2 separate regions of the Homo sapiens genome follow, and region 1 is linked to region 2. Evidence: promoter capture Hi-C in human tissues and cell types (Jung and others, 2019). All regions are on one chromosome and are shown on one strand. Each heading gives the region's core, a stretch centred on a gene start or on the middle of the fragment in contact. The rest is flanking DNA. Distances are from core to core; before and after follow the strand shown. Region 1 overlaps GALNT1 (polypeptide N-acetylgalactosaminyltransferase 1). Region 2 holds the start of GALNT1 (polypeptide N-acetylgalactosaminyltransferase 1).

Region 1 (4,023 bases), core at 114-2,613, 80 kb before region 2:
GTGGCATCAAGGCAGCAGAAAAGCCATCTCTCTTCAGTCAGGCTTCATCTGTACAAGAACAGGACGAGCTGGTAAAGCTGACTTTAGGGTGATTGTTTCAGCCAGTGGTACAAAGCCACCTACCAATACCAGAGCTGCAGGATATGAAACTATTCACTGTGTCCTCAACCACGTCCAGAATTTAAAAATAGATTTCAGAAAATGATGATGAAAAAAGTGTGCATTAGTTTTCCCCTGTTCTCAGGATAAATTGGGATTTTATGTGGAACATTAAAATAGTAGAAAATTACTTTAAAAATTATAGGAAACTCAAGTAACATAGTTTTTAAAAACAAGTCCTGCCTAATGTTTGCCCAGTAAGTAAGCTCCTTAAATATGAGAGTTGGTAGAGTTTTTAAAAATTCTCAATGACAAAAATCATCAACAAGTGTAGTAAAAACTATAAGTACAGAAGTGTAATACTCCATATAAAATCAGCCTTTAAAGCTTTAAAAATCAAATACTGTTAAACTCGTATAGTCATTTCTACTTGCCAGTCTCTGAAAGTAAAGAACAACCAACAGATTTTGAGATTGGTACATCAGTGGTCAAAAGGAACCGGCAGAGTTCTGAAGGTGACAAAAATCTTTTGTGGATGGCACAGATAACATAAAGAGTAGGTGGGAGACATCTAGTGGCCCTGATTATAAATATCCTTCTGTTACCCATGCTCTATTTTAGTATAAAATGCTTTATAGAAAAATCAAAATAGAAACGTTTTCATGCTGCTCAGTTTTTAAATGAAGAGTATTAACATATACATATACCATCTGTGTTTTTACTAGGGGGAAAAAGATCCTCAACCTGATCAAGCCTCTAGACCTAATTTACAGGAAATATACGGGACAAAGGGACATGGCATGCACCATTAAAGGGATGCAAATCCAGACTGCAGGAAACTGGAAAAGAGAAATACCTCAATTTCTTCTTCAACAACAAACAAAACAGGTCTGAGGGAGACAAAGAGAAAGAGGTATCCATGCCACAAAACTAGCCATGAGTTGACAACTCTTGAAGCCAGATGATGGATACATGAGAGTTTAATTTTTTTTTTTTGATTTTTTTTTTTAAGACAGAGTCTCGCTCTGTCACCCAAACTAGAGTGCAGTGGTGCAATCTTGGCTCACTGCAACCTTTGTCTCCCAGATTCAAGCGAATTGTCCTGTCTCAGCCTCTCCAGTAGCTGGTATTACAGACACGCGCCACCATATCTGGCTAATTTTTGTATTTTCAGTAGAAATGGGGTTTCACCATGTTGGCCAGGCTGGTCTTGAACTTCTGACCTCAGGTGATCTGCCCACCTTGGCCTCCCAAAGTGCTGGGATTACAGGTGTGAGCCACCGCTCCCAGCCATGATTTTCTATTCTCTCTACTTTTGTTTCTGTTTGAGAATTTCCATGGTGGAGGGGGGCATTAAGGAGGACTGGAGAAATTATTACTATAAATACTACAAAATATAAACTTAATTGCTTATTACACATGAAATTATATAACCAGAAGCTTAAAGTTGGTTTTGAGATCTTAAAGAATCAGGCAAAAATGTACAGCATATACAATCCTGCTGATGCACTATTTTGCACATTTCATCACCTGATATTTATTAATCTGAAAATCTAACATAGTGCCTGCATTATGTACTCTAACCTACTGTTACATATGAAATTTCAGAGCCACATTTAAAATTATCATTAATCAAAAGTTACATGTCTACTGAATGATTTAGAGAATGCACCACAATACTCTAATTATTAATAAGAAAATACAATATCCTACAGAATTAAATGGACTATTAAACTAATTTTCTTGGCAAACGAGTTTGGATGAAATGCATGTGGTTAGTGAATATATGTTACTATTAATGCATTTATAGCATTAGAAAGCAACTAAAAAGATGGTAAGTATAAACTTTCCATGTTCTCTACTGCCAGTCTTCTATGTGTATTAAAAGTAGGTTCTGTGAAAATTTTATTAGAAAGAAACTGAAATGAGTTTGGATGTCATTTCATGAACTAAAGAAAATATCTTTGCATAAAATTCTACATGCAGCTCATTTCTAAGAATCAAATCACTTTGACAAGGGAGGGACAAAGGTGTTATTCCAAAGTATTATGTGAGAACAAACATATTTTATTATATACTTCAGTTAAGTTTCATTTACATGACACTGTAGATAAGTATCATGTTTTAGAAAAGGTAATTACCAAGAAAACTACAGGTTCACTCTGAAAGCCCCCAAATAAGATTAACATACACAAACCACTGGCATGCCTTTGAATACACTTTAAGGATATTTTTCAAATTTCTTATGTGTGTTTCTCTCAGGAAAGTAGACTAAAGTTATATGACTTCTTTTTGGGGTAAATATACTAATAAAAGGCTAAAATCATTTCTCCCAAACTATTTTCTGATCTTACTACACAATTAACATTTTTACTGTCCTTATGCACTATATTCACTATTTCAAAATGTTTCCTACTATATTTTAACATTTCTGAAATTGGAATGTGGCTCACAATGGTAACTGGAATGTTATCACTTTTACGGTGGTATACAGAATATTCTATAAACAAAGGTATGTAAGATGCAATAAAATGCAGTACACTATCTGATTTTTTAAACATCAAAATATCATCTATACCTTAACTCACTGGTAACTTTCTGCTACTTCAACATCCTTGTCAATTTCCAATTTCATGTTCAATTTACCTGCGCTGCATATATAAAAATCAACACTTAAAAATTTGTTATAAAGTTATTATAGCCTTTACTAGTAATATTTTAAAGTTTTTTATCATTGTAAGTTTTTTCCATAAACCATGTTCTCCAAGGCTTCCTAATGTTCAACAGTTGAAATAATTCCAGCATAAGTACATGAAAAGTTAAATCATTAATATTTTAATGATCTGAAAATGCAGTACTGACATGAAGAATCAATTACTACTTGAAACTGCATCTTTAAAAATACTGAACACTCTATATAACACCCAAATCCATAAAGTGGATAAATGGGCTAATTCTGGAAAGCAGAAGAGTGTAAAAATATTCCTAGGCCATAACCCCCACTACCCGTATTCTTTCAAGGGAGCCCAATCTAACTCTAGCAGCAGCAGAACTCTGCTATTTTCAGATAGCCTCAGGTATAAAATACAAGTATAGACTTAAGAGAACGACTCAGAAAAAACAAACCCCTCTGGAGTCACCAAAGACTCACTATTCCTTGAAGCAGGCAAGTAACAAGTAAATAGAAGAATCTTAGAAAACTCTTAAGTACAGCATATCAACAACAATGTTACAGGAAGTCTTCAGCATTATCACAATGACATCAATCCATTCTATTCAAACCTAGGAAAACTTTTTTCACAGCAGAGACAGTAAAATTTGCTAAATTTCACCGAAATCAGAGCTGTAAAGCAGAACGTTCAGAAATTAGGTACTTCCAATATGAAAAAGTCACTCTGGAGTGTAATACTGCTCAATGCTTTTTGTTGTTTTGTTTTGGTTGTTTGTTTTAAAACAAAGATCCAGGAGGCCCTATGTGTTCTATTAAGAGAGACTTTGATGCCAGGCACAGCAGCTCACTCCTGTAATCCCAGCACTTTGGGAGGCTGAAACAGGCAGATCACCTGAGGTCAGGAGTTTGAGACCAGCCTGGTCAACATGGTGAAACTCCGTCTCTACTAAAAATACAAAAATTAGCTGGGCATGGTGGCGGGTGCCTGTAATCCCAGCAACTCGGGAGGCTGGGACAGGAGAATCGCTTGAACCCAGGAGACGGAGGTTGCAGTGAGCTGAGATCACGCCATTGCACTCCAGCCTGGGTGACAGAGTAAGACTCTGTCTTTAAAAAAAAAAAAAAAAAGAGAAACTTTGAGGTCACATAATGTACATGCTAATTCCACTAGAAAGTTGGCATCCTTGGTGCCATTACCCATTCCCTCTCCCTGATCCTCTTTAGTAAACATCTCTTCAAATGCACCACAGAAA
Region 2 (4,229 bases), core at 69-2,568:
AGATCGCATTCAGTAAATATTTACTGACACAACAAATGTATGTATAATTTAGACCAGGGCTGTTCAACTGTAGCAAAGAACCACATTTAGCTATGGAACACTTGAAATGTGGCTACTGTGACCGAGGAGCTGAATTTTTAAAATTTAATTTTAATAGTCACATGTGGTTAGTGGCTCCCACGCTGGACAGTCCAGGTCTGGACACAGATGTGATGTAAAGAGGACTGGACTAACAAGGTCTAGGTTTGAATCCCAACTCTGCTGCTCAGATTGTGACCTGAAAAGTTGCAACTTCTTAGGGCCTTCACTATTTCATCTGTGAAATGACAAGACCTCCTAACTCTCAGCGTTCTTGACACGATTATAAAGCAATGTATTAAACATAAGATATGATCAAAGTGACATTCTCTGCCCTCCAGAAACAGTTCAGAAAGACTACTTTGCCTATTGCCCACTTGACCAAAAAAATGCCAAGTGAGTTTGGTAGACGGGTTGGTTAGCTCAGTGGCTTTGAGAATGAGGACAAGGTCACAAATCTGGGGAGTAAGGGAACCTCATCTAGCAAGGCTGACCAGATAAGAGAAGCAATGACAATGCAAATCATCCCAATTCCTGGTAAATGCTTAAATGGGCAACGTATTGATTATGGATGAGTAAATGACATCTCATTCATTCATTCTTCCAGGAAAAGCGGAAAAGCTACTACATTACCTAAAGCCCGCTACTTCCCAACCACAAACATTTGCTAATTTAGGTCCGGGTCCTCCTCGGGGGCAGCGGGCCGGGAAGCCCCCTCCCCCGCTGCCGGCGTGTCTTCCCCTCCCCCGTGGCGCCGCGAGGGTCAGGCTGGCACCGCGGTTGCAAGTACCACACGGCCGAACCCAGAAGCCATATTTAGCTTTATTTTTGTCAATAAAACAAACTTCCGTCTTCTAAAGAAAAACGGTTCTAACTCAATGTCAAACTAGGACGGAAACTCGCTGCTCGCCAAAGCTGCCAACCAGAGACGCCGCGTGTCCAACGGCACCGGGGTCCCAGACCCGAACCCGCGCCGAGCGTGCCCGCGCCCCGGCCCCAGGCAGCGCCGGCCACAAAGGGACCGGGGACGCGGCCGCGGCGGGGCCTCTTTCTCCACCTCCGACCCGCGCGCAGCGCTGCGGCTCCGGGACTGCCCAGCCGCGGGCGATACACTCACCTCGCTAGGCGCGCGGCGGCGGCGGCGGCAGGCGTCCTCCGGGCCGGCCGCGGCGGTCGCGGCCGGTCCCGCGGCCAGCGCGCTACTCTCGGGCCGCCGTCCGCCGCGCGCTCCTCGGCCACTGCCGGCGGCTCCCCCGGCGGGCGGGCGGGTCCGGCCGGGCCCCGCTCCGCCGCGCCCGCCCCCGCCTCCGCGCCCGGCTCGGGTCGGCGGCTACTCCGGGCGCCCCGCTCGCGGGCTCGGGCGGCGCTACTCCGGGCCGCCCCGCATGCGCGCCGCCTGCCCGCTCACTTGGGGCTCGTCGCGCGGCGGGCGCCGCAGGGCGCCCGCAGGCGCTCGGGCGCGGTCCTCCCTGCGCTGCGTGCTCGGCGGCAGCGGCGGCGGCGGCCCGTGCGGCTGCGCGGGGGAGGCGGGGGCGCCGGCGCTCACCCGGATGCGCGCCCCCTCCGCTGCGGCGAGCCCACCGCGGGGCCGCGACGCTCCCCTCGGGCTCGGGACTCCGGGGTCGGGCGCGGCGCCCCTCCCGGACCGACCGCCCAGTCCCGGCCCCCGCTCACACGGCTACGGGCAGGGCCGGGCCAGGCCGAGAGGTGCCCCCGACCCTGGGTCGGGACAAAGAGGCTGCCGCAGCAAGTTAAAGACAACTCGGGCTGTTGCGCGTCGAGCAGGTCACGGGGTGGGAGGAGATGGAGGAGCCCTCACAGCGGATCGGCTCCCGGGCCGAGCGCGGGGCCGCCCCAACCCGGTCGGCTGCCTGAGGCGGCCGCGAGCGCGGGAGCTGGAGCGCTGTCAGCCGCGCTGAGCCTGCGCCTGGCGACCGCGATGCAGGAGGCCCGGGACTGAGGGAGGACGGCGAGAGCGGAGGCCCGCGACCCGCACCGCCGGGGCAGGCACCCGGGTCTCGGGGGCAGCAACGCCGGGGCCCTTGCAGAACGGGGACTGTTTGGGGAAGTGGCTCCCGCACAGTGCCCGGAGAGGGGCCCTCCCTCTGTGCCCCCTTGGGAAACACTGCTTGGTACAATTCCAATACCCAGCTGTACCCTGCCCTGAAGATAGAAGACAAAACCCTGGCTCTGTCACTCACGCGAGGCATAACCAACCATTCTTTTAATAAATTAATTTTCTACTTAAATAATTCAGAGGTTTGTGTCTTATTGCTTGCCAACCAAGAGCTGCAATAAGAGATTACTTAATATTTAAGTGGTCCCACTTTTAAATTTATATTACCTCTCACATAACCAAAAGGCTGTCCGAAAAAAAAAAAAAAAAACCTGAAGATTATCTCTGGAATTTTAGTATCCTGTTTTTGCTTGTCTACATCTTCCAAGTATTCTAAAATAAAAGTTAAAAGTTACTATTTTAAAAGTACTTATATAATATTTTGAAACAAAGTCAATCATGACTAGCCTGTTACTGTTCCACAAGGAAACTTCACTTTGGAATAAAGTTGTCATCGTTAAAAAATACTCTTATCTTGGGAGAAAAGATTGGCAAATCATATATCTGTTAAAGGACTTGTAGCCAGAATGTATGAAGAACTCTTACAACTCAGTAATAAGACTAATAGTCCAATTTTAAATGGGCAAAACAATTGAATAGACGTTTTACCAAAGATATTTAAATGATCAACAATTACATAAAAAGGTGTTCAACATCATTAGTTAATAGGGAAATGCAAATTAGAAGCACAACAAGGAAGTTCTTGACACCCACTACACTGGCTGTAGTACAAAAGACAGACAGACAATAGCAGTGTTGGTGAAGAGATGGAGAAATTAGAACCCTCATACGTTGCCTATGGAAATGTAAAATGGTGCAGCCACTTTGGAAAACAGTTTTCCAGGTTTTTTAAAAAGTTACACATGAAGTATTCTATCACCCAACAATTCCACTCCTAGGCGTATGCCTGAGAGAACTGAAGATAAATTCATACAGTAACTTGTACATGAATATTAATAACAGTGTTATTCATGATAGCCAAGAAGTAGAAACAGTCCAAATGTCCAGAAACTGCTGCGTGGATAAAATGCAGTATATGCCATACAGTGGACTACTACTCAGTAAAAGGAACGAAGTAGTCATAGAAGATACAACATAGAGGAACCTCAAAAACGATAAGCTAAGTGGAAGAAGCTAGATGTGTAAGAGCCTGTATTGTAGGATCTATTTACAGCCATGCCCCGGTCAATGATGGGTCACCTGTACAATGGTGGTCCCATAAGATTATATGCAGCTGAAAAGTTACTATCACCAAGTGAGGTAGCCTTCATAATGTCGTTGGGCAATGGGTTACCTTTTCTGTGTTTAGATACACAAATACCATTGTGTTAACAATTGCCTGCGGTATTCAGTACAGTCCCATGCTGTACAGGTCTGTAGCCTAGGAGCAATAAGCTGTACCATGTAGCCTAGGTGTGTAGTAGGCTATACCATCTAGGTTTGTGAGTATACTGTATGATATTCTCACAATGACAGAATTGCCTAACAATGCATTTCCCAAAACATACCCCTGTCATTAAGTGACACATTGACTATGTAAGATATCTAGAAAAGGCAAATCGATACAGATAATCAGTGGTCTAGAGCTGGGGGTAGATATGGGGAATGACTGCAAAGGGGCACAAGAGATCTCTTTGCAGTGATATAAATGTTCTAAAATTGGATTGTGGTAATGGTTGTAGATTTACGAAAACTACCTGAACTGTGCACTTGAAATGTGGATTTTATGGTATGTGCAATTACCTCAATAAAGCAATTAAAAAAAAAGATAACTGTGTACCATTAAATAGCGCAGGAAAATAGTACCTTTTTAATCTGCTTGCAACAAGTTCTTTGCAATGAAAACTACCTGTAAGACAAATGAAAAATTGTGTGCTGTTTGCACATAATTCTACCGTGTAATCAAATGCACTTTTCACAACTGTTTTTATAACCAAGCACATTTACCCTTCAACAATCCAAGTCTACTCCTATTCATTCCAAAATGTGTCTTCACTGTACCTGCTAACAGAACAGAAAATGGGGTAGAAAAGGG

The links. The method cuts DNA at HindIII sites, captures the fragments that hold promoters and counts their contacts. A contact is called where the count stands out against the background at its distance.
Region 1: a fragment that was not itself captured here is called in contact with the fragment with the promoter of GALNT1 in region 2 in 3 of the 25 tissues and cell types used here (IMR-90 fibroblasts, hippocampus and lymphoblastoid cells).

Annotation. Positions count from the first base shown.
Region 1 is chr18:35,658,585-35,662,607 of GRCh38, reverse strand. All of the region lies in intron 2 of GALNT1 (polypeptide N-acetylgalactosaminyltransferase 1), which reads right to left. Among named protein-coding and RNA genes, the nearest start is that of MIR3975, 69 kb to the right of the region's middle. The HindIII fragment of the contact is 3,602 bases long and covers 1-3,164 here.
Region 2 is chr18:35,578,829-35,583,057 of GRCh38, reverse strand. It overlaps GALNT1 (polypeptide N-acetylgalactosaminyltransferase 1), which reads right to left and starts at 1,318. Exons shown (of 12, transcript NM_020474.4): 1 at 1,196-1,318. RefSeq lists a silencer at 1,577-2,276. The HindIII fragment of the contact is 13,517 bases long and covers 1-4,229 here.